Linked DNA regions of Homo sapiens: all the other regions are linked to region 3. The links are contacts of gene promoters, found by promoter capture Hi-C in human tissues and cell types (Jung and others, 2019). All regions are on one chromosome and are shown on one strand. The core of a region is centred on a gene start or on the middle of the fragment in contact, and the rest is flanking DNA. Distances in the headings are between cores, read along the strand shown. Region 1 holds the start of KCTD17 (potassium channel tetramerization domain containing 17). Region 2 holds the start of IL2RB (interleukin 2 receptor subunit beta). Region 3 holds the start of TMPRSS6 (transmembrane serine protease 6).

Region 1 (4,322 bases), core at 1,632-4,131, 58 kb after region 3:
ACACAGAGGGGTTAGGTCACTTTCTCAGTGTCACACAGCTAGTAAGTCTCCTCTCAGATCCCCTATCCCCTGGATGAGCCCTAGCCCTGTGTATCCCCTAGCCCCCGGATAGCCCTGCGTGATCCCCTAGCCCCCGGATAGCCCTGTGTGATCCCCTAGCCTCCGGATAGCCCTGTGTGATCTCCTAGCCCCCAGATAGCCCTGTGTGATCCCCTAGCCCCCAGATAACCCTGTCTGATCCTCTAGCCCCCAGACAGCGCTGTCTGACGGTGTGGGAATAGCAGGGCTTTGAGAATGCAGGGCGTGTAAACAGGTGCTGGCTGCGACGCAGCTGGGGTGTTTACTTCCCTCCCGATGGGGCCTGCTCCTGAGCCTAGGCCACGCCCATGGTATCTGTGCTCCCCTAGGGATTAACAGGCAAGCTGTGGGGCTCTGCAGGGCCAGGCACCTACAGTGGACTCTGGTGTTGTGGCCCTGACCTATTAGAGAGTTGCTGGGCCTCCAGACCACTGTGTCCCATAGGGCTCAGGGAGGGCAGACCATGGCCCAGAGCAGGAAGGCACGCACAGGTGCAGGATTTATGACATCTCCCTCCAGAAGGCAGATCACCGCCCCCATTGAATAGATACCAGTGGAGACGCAGTGAGGAGAAGTGACATATTCAAGCTGGTCTGGCTGGATCAGCTGACCCAGAGCCACACCCTGTGTCCCAAAGAAGAGTTAACTTGGCACTGACTGTAGTCCTTGCCCCTGGCTGCAGCTCTGCTAACAGGTCGTTCTCCCAGACATGGCCTCCCCACTGTTTGTTAGGCCCGGATATGGGCATATCCAGGGCCTCGGCCACCTAGGCCTGGGGATAACCAAAGCCCCACTGGGAAGCAGACTCCCCCCTCTCCTGCCTCCACCCACAGCCAGCACTGTGCCGCACAGGCTGCCAGACTTAGTGAACAGTCACCCGCTCCACCCACTTACAAGCCCTCACCAGGCAGAATTTGAGATACTGGATCAGCCAGAGAAAGAGAGACAGAGCTCTCCCCATGCCTGTCAACACTGCATTCCTGTCACCCCAGCCTCCGGATGTGACCGTCCACACCTGGCTTCCTAGGAGGCCAGAGAGAAAGGGCGTCACAGCCCACAGCAGAGGCCACAGGGCCTCGCTGACTTCCTCTATCCCCTGCACATGTGTCTCTTCACCTCCCTGACAGTACCCAGGGAAAGCTTGAGCCCGTCCGCTTGGCAGAGCCCCAGGCTCGGCACAGGCAGATGCTTGGGAATCAGCCCCGTCCGACTGGGAAGAGGCAGGAAACAACCAAGCAGGCAGATGGCCGTCCTGGTTGTCCAAATGGCTTGGGGCCTCCACAGAGGGCCCTGGCAGGCTGCATAAGGTCCAGGCCAGCCCCCTGGACCAACTCACCCTCCTCAGCCATGTCCTTGTCCAGCACCAGCTTGCCATGCCGGAGGAAGTTCAGGATGGGCCCGAAGTAGGTGGGGTCACGGTCAATGAGGTAGGCCCCGGTCTCATCCTATGGAGGTGAGGGATGCTCGGTGAGAGAAGAGTGAGGCTTCTCCCCAGCCAACCCCGCACACGCACAGGGAGGGAAGGAGAGTGGAGGGAGAGCTCTTCCCTGGATGGAGCAGGCACAAAGTAGCAAAAAGGCACTGGGGTCAGATGGACCTGAGTTCAAGCCCTGCTTCTGACTCTTCCTGAATGTGTGACCTTAGGCTAATGATTTGGCCTCTTTGAAACTCACTCCTCTCCCCCTAATCAGGGTTTGCTGTGAGCATCCGGTGAGAGGATGTCTGAGTGGCAACTGGCCCAGCACAGGGCTCGAAGAATGTCCCTCTGAGAGGCTGTCCCCTGAAGCCAGCCCCACTGTCGCCCCCAGGTCCCTAGGCTTTCAGGGGATGTTTACAAGTTTCCAAAGGAGTCACTATCTCACTGGACACTCGGGCGGGCAGGGAGGCAGGGTGGGCTTCCATGCGACTCTACAGAGAGATCGGAGACATTGAGAGGTGAGGCGACTTGCCAAAGGCCACAGCATCGGAGGGTCACGGATGGGGGACAGGAGACCTTAGAGGTCATCTTCAGACCAGCCCTTCGTGTTACAGATGAGGAAGGAGGCTGAGCGCAGTGCAGGGAAGGGTCCGACTCAAGGTCGCGGCAGGCAGTGTGCAGCAGAGTCAGGGTGGGTGCTCAGAAATAGTGCCCGCTGGGCCAACGCTCCTTCTAGATTCAGCCCGCTCAGAAGGCGCCCCAGGGCTCCTCCATCCAGCTAGCTCCCTGCACCCCTCCGCCACCCACATCCCAAAGAGCGGGAGAAGTAGCCTCGTCGACTCCTTCCCCAGAGCAGGAGTCCCCTTTGGGAGGGAGGAAAGGTCCCAGGTCTCTCCCTGTCCACAGCCCCAAAGGAGAAGGAGAGGCCCCGATCCGGGGCGGCTGGAGAGCTTCTAATGGCCGCGGCCTGCGTCGTCCCGTTGCCACGGCAATGGGTACATCCCTCACTACCAGACCCACCTCCCCCTCCCCTCCTCCTGCCGCTTCTTCCCGCCTCCAGTTCCTCGGAAATGAACCCGGCCGGGTCCCCAGCCTGGCGGGCGAGCCAGGCCCGACAGCCCCGCGTCGGGCGAGCGGAGGACCCACCGCCCGCTCGCCGCCCACCCCGGGGGCCTCACCCGGTCCGACTGCAGCTCTTCCCCCTGGCACAGGCGGCTGAGGAAGGACTTCTGCTCGCGGCACAGCGTCTGCCGGGTGGTCAGGAACACCGTGCCCCCCACGTTGAGCCGCACCCACTTGCCCCAGCCGCCTGCGGCGCGGCCGCCCGCCCCCGCCGGCGGCGCTGCCTCCCCGGCCTCCATCCTCATCGCCGGCCGCGGCGTCTGCATCCTCCTCCCGGGCGCTGGGGGCGGGCGGGGACCGCACGCGGGGCAGGCCGGGAGCTGTAGTCCGCGCCTCCTGGCTCCGCGTGGGCCGCGGGTAGGGTCCCGCCCCGCGCTGCTCCCGCCCCCGGTCCCGCCCCGCTTCGCCCTTCCCCGCAGGCCCGCAGTCTGGGGTGGTGAAGATGCCCTCTGGCCAAATCACTGTGTATGGGGAAGGTCGAACTCCCGGCCTCTGGGAAAAGAATGAGGGCTTCCCCAAATCTGCAGTCATCCCATGGGTCCGAGCATTCTTGTTTTTCCTTTGTGCCGTCTCCGTCGTCCAACAGCTGATAAGGGAAGAAACTTTCCCCTCCAGGAATCCCCATAGCATTGACCCGCATGTGTTTCGTCATATTTTTTCATTTGCCCTTTGTGTGTATAGGGGTGGGGGCGGGGTGGGTGGGAGTGGGTTCTTTCCCTCACCTGAGTTCTTGGAGAACGACATAGCTGGACTTGAGGTTGGCTGAGCACCTGTATGCCAGACACTTTGTGTATATGTGTTATGAATTTAAGCTCTCAGCAGCCCTGTGAGTCTGGTATTTTGGGCTATACCCATTTTACAGATGAAGCCACAGAAGCGAAGTGACCGCCCTACTCACATTGCTGGTGAGTGAGTACCCACCAAGGTCTCTTTCCTGCTCCCTGACCATGGAATGTCAGGGATCCTTGGGAAAGACTTCTAAGGAGGAAGAGTAGAGCACGCCCTGGATCCGAGTCAGGAGAACTGAGTTTCCATTCTGGCTTTTGGCCTTTCTCAGTTTTTCCACGTCCTCCCTAAGAAGGAGGAGGGATTGGTTCTGCGGGTGGCTTTCTGAGTTATTCCCCAGTTAACTCGGAGGGGAACCGTCATTCTGTGGACCTCAGGATGGGGGAAGGGAGCAGTTCCTCATGTGGTCCGGGACCAGGGAGGGACAAGGGCTGACGAGGAAGCTGTCTCCTTAGCTTCCTCTCCTTACTGGTTTCAGTCCTGGTCCTGGCCTATGGGGGAGAGGTCTGGGGCTCCTCTCACTGATCCAATGTCACACGCAGCTGGCCCGAACACTGGGCAGCCTGGCCCTGTGCTGGGAGAAGTTTCCCTGTTACCACCCAATGCCCTGCTTTCTGCATAAAGCTTTTCTCCTTGGCAGGGAGTGGATCAAAGGTGTACTGGAATCCTGCTACTTAAAATTCACTAGGTGTGTCCTGAGCAACTTCCTCTCTGAGATTGGCTTTCTCTCTTGCCAAATGGGATTTACAACAGTTGTGACCCCAGAGCATTGCTGTGAAGATTAAGTTATGAAATGTCTATAAACATCTAGCGTAGGCTGGGTGCGGTGGCTCACACCTGTAATCCCAGCACTTTGGGAGGCCAAGGCTCGCTTGAGCATAGAAGTTCAAGACCAGCCTGGACAGCATAGTGAGACCCC
Region 2 (4,051 bases), core at 243-2,742, 42 kb before region 3:
CTTGAACTTTGTGGGCAGAGGTTGCAGTGAGCCGAGATTGTGCCACTGCACTCCAGCCTGGGTGACAGAGCTAGACTATGTCTCAAAAAAAAAAAAAAAAAAAAAAAGAGGCCACAGCTTGCAATAAAACCCCTCTGAAACAGGGAATCAGGAAAGGGAAGAAGCAGAGCTGCTGCTTCTGGGCTCTGAGGATGGAACTTCACAGGGTCTATGGGGCTGTGATGTAGCACGTAAATAGATGTGCATTTTTCTAAAGACCAATCCATAAGTTTCCATCATTTAAAAAAAAGAGCCCTGAGCTGAGCTCCCACGCCACCCTTCTCCCCCGCCAAAAAAGGGGGAGAAGGGTTAGGAACCATGACTTGAGAGGAAGAGGAAGGTTCTAGAATGTTCAGTAAGTGACCATCAAATTGTTCACAAAGACCTGATAGTCATCTCTGGGAAGTGCTAGCTAGAACAAACAGACAAGAGAAAGAAGTAAAGGGCATCCAAATTGGAAAGGAAGAAGTCAAATTATCCTTGTTTGTAGACGATATTATCTTATATTTCAAAAAGCCTAAAAACGCCACCACAAAACTATGAGAACTGATAAACAAATTCAGTTAAGCTGCAGAATACAAAATCAACATACAAAAGTTAGTAGTATTTCTATGTACCAACAGCAAACAATCTGAAAAAGAAATCAAGAAAATAACTCCATTTGGAATAGCTACAAATAAAATAAAATACCTAGGAATAAACGTAACCAAAAAAGTGAAAGATCTCTATAATGAAAACTATAAAACGTTGGTGCAAGAAACTGAAGAGGACACAAAAAATAAAAAGATATTCTATGTTTATGGATTGGAAGAATCAATATTGTTAAAATGTCCATACCACCCAAAGAAATATACAGACTCAATGTAATCCCTATCAAAATACTAATGACATTCTTCACAGAAGTAGAAAAAATAATCGTCAAATTTATATGGAACCACAAAAGATGCAGAGTAGCCAAAGCCATCCTAAGCAAAAAGAGTGAAACTGGACAAATCACATTATCTGACTTCAAATTATACCACAGAGCTACAGTAACCAAAACAGCGTGGCGCTAGCGTAAAAACAGATGCATTGACCAATGAACCATTGGTCAGAATAGGGAACCCAGAAACAAATCCACACACCTACAGTGAACTTATTTTCAACAAAATTGCCAAAAACATACCTTTGGGGAAAGGCCAGTCTTTTCAATAAATGTTGCTGGGAAAACTGGATATCCATATGCAGAAGAATGAAACTAGACCCTCATCTCTCTTCATATACAAAAATCAAATCCAAATGGATTAAAGACTTAAATCTGAGACCTCAAACTATGAAACTACTAAAAGGAACATTGGGGAAACTCTTTAGGACATGGGACTAGGCAAAGATTTCTTGAGCAATACCCCACCAGCACATGCAACCAAAGCAGAAATGATAGATGAGATCACATCAAGTTAAAAGGCTTCTACACAGCAAAGGATGCAATCAGCAAAGTGAAGAGACAACCCACAGAATGGGAGAAAATATTTGCAAACTATCTGACAAGGGATTAATAACTGGACTAGATAAGGAGCTCAAACATCTTTATGGAAAAAAATTATAGAAATCCCATCAAAAATTGGGCAAATGATCTGAATAGACAGTTCTCAAAAGAAAACATATAAGTTTATGAAAAGGTGCTCAACATCATTGATCATCAGAGAAATGCATGTCAAAACTACAATGAGATATTATCTCACCTCAGTTAAAATGACTTTTATCCAAAAGGCAGGCAATAATGAATGCTGGTGAGGGTGGGGAGAAAAGGGAACTCTCGTACACTGTTGGTGGGAATGTAAATTAGTACAACCACTATAAAGAACAGTTTGAAGAGTCCTCAAAACACTAAAAATAGAACTACTATATGATCCAGCAATCCCACTGCTGAGTATATACCCAGAAGAAAGGAAATCAGTATATGGAAGAGACATCTGCATTCCCACATTTGTTGCAGCACTGTTCACAATACCCAGGATTTGGAAGCAACCTAAGTGCCCATCAACAGATGAATGAATAAAGAAAATGTGGTACATATATGCAATGGAGTACTATTCAGCCATGAAAAAGAATGAGATCCTGTCTTTGCAACCACATGTTTGAAACTGGAGGTCATTATGTTAAGTGAAACAGGCCAGGCACAAAAAGACAAAGCTCACATGTTCTCACTTATTTGTGGGAGCTAAAAATTAAAACAATTGAATTCATGGAAATGGGAAGGGCAGTGATGGAGATGGGAAGGGCAGTGGGGGTTGGAGGGGTGGGGATTGTTGTTGGGTACGAAAACAGAATTAGATCGAATGAATAAGATCTAGTATTTGATAGCATAACAGGGTGACTTTAGTCAACAATAATTTATTGTACATTTAAAAATAACTAAAAGAGTATACTTGGATTTTAACACAAAGAAAGGATAAATACTTGAGGTGATGGATACCCCATTTACCCTGATGTGATTATTATACATTGTATGCCTGTATCAAAATAGCTCATGTGCCTCATGAATATAGACACCTACCACATGCCCACAAAATTAAAAACTAAAAAAAACAGTCATCTCTGAATGCTAAACGGAGTAAGGGGCTTCCTGGAAGGCTGGGTGAAATGGGAGTCTCGGAAAGATGGTGTGTTGCAGGCTGGGAGGAGGGTGAGACGCTGGGGTCACCTAGAGGGACCTGCTTGTGTGAAGCCTACGTATTAGTGGGTATGTGTGTGACCGGATGGAGGCGTCAGAGGTGTTGGGTAGCCTGTGTGAGTTGGCGTGGGGGTGATGTAGGAGGGGAGAGAGGGAGGGCCTGCGTTCCCTTGGCTCCTGTGTGCAGCTAGGCCCCTATTTGACAATGTGTGTCTGTGTGTGTGTGTGTGTGTGTGTGTGTGTGTGTGTGTGTGTGTGCCGCCCCCAGCGTAGGAGGCAGATCTTTATCTGGCCCTGGGTGCTTGAGGAGTTTCAGGCTTTCTCATAAGCCTCGTCTCCCCGCCTCTCCACCCCAGGCCTTGCCCCTCTATCCTCTGCACAGGAAGTGGGCTGGCTCTGGGCTTTTAGTCTTTGCGGCCCCAGCAGCCAGAGCTCAGCAGGGCCCTGGAGAGATGGCCACGGTCCCAGCACCGGGGAGGACTGGAGAGCGCGCGCTGCCACCGCCCCATGTCTCAGCCAGGTGATGTCCCCCTGCCTCCCTCCCGGCCCCTGTGGACCAGCCAGAGGGCTGGGAGTGAAAGTCACAGAGAAGACTTTCAGCTCTGACTCAGTTCCCCCAGCAGTTTCTGCCTGAACTCCCATCCCCCAACTTTGTCTTAGAATTCCCCTAGGGAGGGGTTGGGCCCAGCTCTCATGGCTCCTGGCTGGAGGAAAAAGCGGTCCCCAGTCCCAGGTCAGCTCTCCTTCCCAACCCATTCAGGGGAGGCTAGGGACTGCTGTGGGATGAGGGGCTTCCCTGGGCTCTGTGTGCTGGGCCCCCAACCCGGAGAGGTGGAGAAGGGATGGGTGGATAGCCTGGGTGCCCGGAGAGGGTACGGGATATGGGGTGGGACAGGCGGGAGCCCCCTCCTGACCTCTGTGGAGTGGGGCCCATATACCGGGGGAGGCAGCCCTGTGTTGCGTGCTCATCAGGAGGCTTGTGGAGTAAGTGGGGACAGAAGGGTCCCCTTGGAGAGCCATCTATGAAGTGAAGTTGCTGCGAGGCCTCTGGGAGCCCCAGGCTGGAGGCAGAGCCCTGGGTTTGAGTCTGGGTTTGTCCCTCCCTTGGCTGCATGACTGGACAGGTCAGAAGCATCTCCGGACATTGGGGATGGGACCCTATCTTTGGGGCTGCCTGGAGCTCATGCTCTCTCCTCTCCTGGGGGCCGAAGCCTCCCACTCTTAACTGTGTTTGTAGCACCTCGGGGGAGGGAGGTGGAGTGAGGAGCTGAGCTATCCCCAAGGGTCCCCTTCCTTCCCCCACAGCCAGGGTCCCGCACCCAGCTGGAGAAGCCCCTGAAGTTAAATAGCAAGAGACAA
Region 3 (4,193 bases), core at 1,513-4,012:
CTAGGATCGGGGTGTCTTCACCCCCTACACAAACACACTATCCCTGCTCTGTCTCAAGCATCTGTCCCTCAGGAAGTTTGCAAGGTGGGGCCCAGGGCCTGGGAAGAGGGGAGTTTATGGGGAGGAGGCAGAGTTGTTGGGGCTGGGACGAGGGACAGTGGGCAGGGCTATGGTGTTCGGTCTCAGGGTCAGGGTCAGGCCCATGGGCAGGGGCCAGGACTCTGGGGAGGGCCACAGGAGAAGGTGAGGGAAGGTACCCCCTAACCCAGAATCCTAACCAGCCTGACAGTGCGCCCTCCTGCCCTGGCCCAGCCCTGGCTCTGCCTGGAGATGGTGCTGTACTGAGCTCATGCCCAGCCCCCATGGGCAGGGGCCTTCACACCTTAGGACACAGGGGTGCCCCCCACGCACATGTCAGGGAGGTACCTGCCTACTGCTACAGGCCCCCTTAGGGAGCACACGCCAGAGAGCATGGGGCATCTACGTGCTTGAGACATGCGTGAGGGGCCACACAGGTAGGCACCACACACATGCCACCTGTCATTGCCTGGACTTCAGTGCACAGGCACACCTGGCCCCGACACACCAGCGTGTCACCATGAGAAGAGGAGAAACCCGCTCTCGGCGCCCCCCACAGTGCTGGGCCTTCGCACACGTTGTTTCCCGTTCATCAAGAAGGGGCGAATTTTTTTCATTCGACAGATGGAAGAAGCACCGCTCAGAAGTCAGGGAATCTGCCCAGGTTCCTACAACTAAAAGGGAGCCAGGTAGGGCTGAAAACCGGCGGTCACGGCAAAGCCCGGGCGCGGGGCCCTGTCCCATCCCAGCCAATCCATAAGCATCTCACACTTCACACCCGCTGCACACTCCACTCACACGCCTCACACTCCACACATGCCTCACGCTCCACACACACCTCACACTCCACACACGTCTCACACTACACACACGCTTCACACTCCACACATGCTTCACACTACATACACCTTACACTACACACACACCTCACACTATGCACACACCTCACACTAAACACATGCCTCATATTCCACACATACTGTGAGCATGCACACACACACACACACAGCTGCACACACCTCTCATGCTCCATACACACCTCACACCATACGTACCTCAAAGACACACACACCTTACACTGCACATTCCCAGCACCCACACTGCACACACATGCACAGTCCATATGCCCACACAACACACTTCACACACCCCCCACCCCACACCATACAAACCTCACAGACACACCTCTCACACAAATCTTATACCCCACACACAATCCCTACGCTCCACACACACACACACACACACACACGCACATTCTACACATACATAATCTACACACACAAATTCCAGACTGTCTCTCTTACACACACACTCTGGGACCCATATGCCCACAGCACACAGCATCTCAGGCGTGCACCCCGCATTCTGGCCTCAGGATGTAGACTCGCTGAAAGTCAGCCTTGTCTGAGACAGACGCCCGCTGCCCTGCACGCACCCTAGAAAGCCCTGGCTCCCATCCGGCACTTCGGCACGCATATGGCTCAAACCCATCTCCACAGCAACGCTGTTCCATAGAACAACAACGCAGGTCACACTTGTGACTTAACCTGTCTAATATCCACATGCAACAAGGGGTGTGGTGGCCCGCGCCTGTAATCCCAGCTACTTGGGAGGCTGAAGCAGGAGGATCATGTGGGCCCAGGAGCTCCAGACCAGCCTGGCAACCTAATGAGACCCTGTCTCTGAAAAAAAAAAAAACAAGAGAGCCAGAAGAAAATTGCTTTTAATAATACATTTTATTTATCCCATGATCACCAGTGTTATTTCAACATAAAATCAATATAAAAATTGTTATCGCGTTGGTTGACATCCTGTTTGCACTTGGCCTTGGAAACCTGGTGTGCGTCTCCCCCGTGCAGCTTTTCTCAGTTCAGACTGACTCAAGAGCCACGGGTGACCAGCGGCTACCGTCATGGACAGCACAGCGCTACGGAACCAGGTAGGAATTCATGCTGCGTGCGGTCGCTCATGCCTGTAATCCTAGCGTTTTGGGAGGTCGAGGTGGGTGGAATCACTTGAGGTCAGGAGTTCGAGACCAGCCTGGCTAACATGGTGAAACCCCATCTCTTCTAAAATTATGAAAATTAGCCGGGCATGGTGGTGGGCGCTGTAATCCCAGCTACCTGGGAGGCTGAGGCAGGAGAATTGCTTGAACCCGGGAGGCGGAGGTTGCAGTGAGCCGAAATCACACCACTGCACTCTAGCCTGGGTGACGGAGTGAGACTCCATCTTAAAAAAAAAAAAAAAAAAAAAAAAGAACGAGGTAGGAATTCAAATAATTCCCAGCTAAACAGAAAATAGCATCAAACCCCACCCCTGCCTCCCCTTTCTCCTCTCCAGTCCCCAGAGTATATGGGCCCAGCCTCCTTTTCTCTCTCTCAGGCCAGCAGCTCCTTTAGTCTCGCCTGTCCAGGTAAGCACCTGGACTCACCCTTGTGAGCCCCTGCACTCACCTGCACCGGCCTCTGCACAGTCCCCAGTCCTTGGCTGTCCCTACCTCATGCTCTCGGGGACCAGGGGCTGTAACCAGGCAGGCATGTCACCAGGCAACGGGCCTCGGGGGAGAGCTCAGATCTCCCGCACCTGCCTGCCAGCCTCTGGGGTGCCCATGCGGGGGTGGGGGAAGATGGGGCGGGGCAGGCACTGCCTTCTCCTACCTCCTGCCTGTTTACCTGTACTTAGTCACAGTGCTGTCCAGGACCCAGCAGGAGGAGTTCCATGGAGCCTGAGGCCACAGGCCACAGGGGACAAGGGCCAGACACCCTGGTCATGGCTCTAGGCCATTGATCCAGCCTGGGCTGGCTGGGTGGGGGTGGGGAGGCCTTGGCCTGGACAAACAGAGGCTCCTGAGGCCTGTGTGCAGGCCCGGCACCTATCTGCCGCTCCCAAAGGTAAGCGGGGGCCTCCAGGACAGGGGACCGGGATCTATAAATGACCTAGTGACAGTGTCCACCCTAAGAGCTGGGCCTGGCTCCCTGCAGCCTGAGCCACCTACCCTGCTCCGAGGCCAGGCCTGCAGGGCCTCATCGGCCAGAGGGTGATCAGTGAGCAGAAGGTGAGGGGCCCACAGAGCTGGGGAGGGGAGGGACCACGCAGGGTGACACCAGGTGTGTGGACAGGCACAGCATCAGTGCTGGGTGGTTGGTGGCCTGGGATTCAGGTGGCAGGGACAGGAGGAAGGGAGAGGCCACCCTACCCCTGCCTCGCAGGACTGGACATGCTGCCCCCTCCACACCCGGTACCCCACCTGGGCCTTCTGGTGTAGGAGACAGGCCCGGAGCCCCACATTGCACCTATGTACTGACTTAAGCCCAGGACCCTGGGCTCACAGGCTCAGAGTTGGCATGTATGTGTATGTGTGTTCGTGTGTGTGTCTGTGTAGGAAGGGCGTGCATCTATGAATTTTTGTGTCATGAATAGATGTGCGTATATCCCTCCGCGTGTCTCCATCTGTGTACATCTGTGGGTCTGTGAGTGTGTTTATATGTGTGGAAGGGACCCCCACCCAGTCCCCCACACTCTCAGGACTCTAGGGCCTAATGGTTTCACTGAAAGATGCCCCTATGGCCCTAGCCCAGAGTCCCTGCTCTGCTCTGCTCTGCCCTGGCTGAGGGACCTCGGGTAAGTCATGTTACCTCTCTCTACCTCAGTTTCCCCAGCCATTAAATAGAGTCAGCAAAGTAGGCACCCCAGGCTGTTGGAGGCTGCAGTGGAGTTTGCAGCACTGCCCAGCACAGGGCTGGCACATGGTAGGAGTTCATACGCAGTGGTTGAATCCGGATCTGCATTGCTGGGGGAGTCGCGGCCCCGCCCCAAGGAGCTCAGCCTCCAGCAGGCAGACCCGAGACCCTCCAATGGCCAGAAGGGCAGGAGGGAGTGAGGAGCAGGTGCCAGGGTGGGGTCCATGGTGCTCAGAGCTGGGGGACTGCTTCAGGCCCCTGTGGCAATTGGAGCACAGTCCCCGCTTCCAGGAGTTCAATGTGAGGGGCAAAGAGAGAGTGCCCACAGGTAAGCTGCACATCGCGAGGGGCAGCCGCCCCTTCTAGGGCACTCTGGGAGAGCTGCGAAGAGGTGAGGTCTGAACTGAGGTGACAGGGGCTGCATAAGAGCTG

The links. Contacts are between HindIII fragments. The study calls those that stand out against the background at their distance.
Region 1: the fragment with the promoter of KCTD17 here is called in contact with the fragment with the promoter of TMPRSS6 in region 3 in 3 of the 25 tissues and cell types used here (IMR-90 fibroblasts, lymphoblastoid cells and spleen).
Region 2: a fragment that was not itself captured here is called in contact with the fragment with the promoter of TMPRSS6 in region 3 in 2 of the 25 tissues and cell types used here (IMR-90 fibroblasts and spleen).

The regions. Positions count from the first base shown.
Region 1 is chr22:37,050,301-37,054,622 of GRCh38, reverse strand. It overlaps KCTD17 (potassium channel tetramerization domain containing 17), which reads right to left and starts at 2,881. Exons shown (of 9, transcript NM_001282684.2): 1 at 2,674-2,881; 2 at 1,415-1,523. The coding sequence starts at 2,862. RefSeq lists enhancers at 1,279-1,995, 1,996-2,713 and silencers at 2,650-2,769, 2,780-3,089. The HindIII fragment of the contact is 12,846 bases long and covers 1-4,322 here.
Region 2 is chr22:37,148,986-37,153,036 of GRCh38, reverse strand. It overlaps IL2RB (interleukin 2 receptor subunit beta), which reads left to right and starts at 3,121. Exons shown (of 10, transcript NM_000878.5): 1 at 3,121-3,212. RefSeq lists enhancers at 2,751-2,862, 2,945-2,976, 3,059-3,081 and a promoter at 2,256-3,211. The HindIII fragment of the contact is 6,256 bases long and covers 1-4,051 here.
Region 3 is chr22:37,108,282-37,112,474 of GRCh38, reverse strand. TMPRSS6 (transmembrane serine protease 6) reads left to right here and starts at 2,762. Exons shown (of 18, transcript NM_001374504.1): 1 at 2,762-2,972. RefSeq lists an enhancer at 4,031-4,193. The HindIII fragment of the contact is 35,568 bases long and covers 1-4,193 here.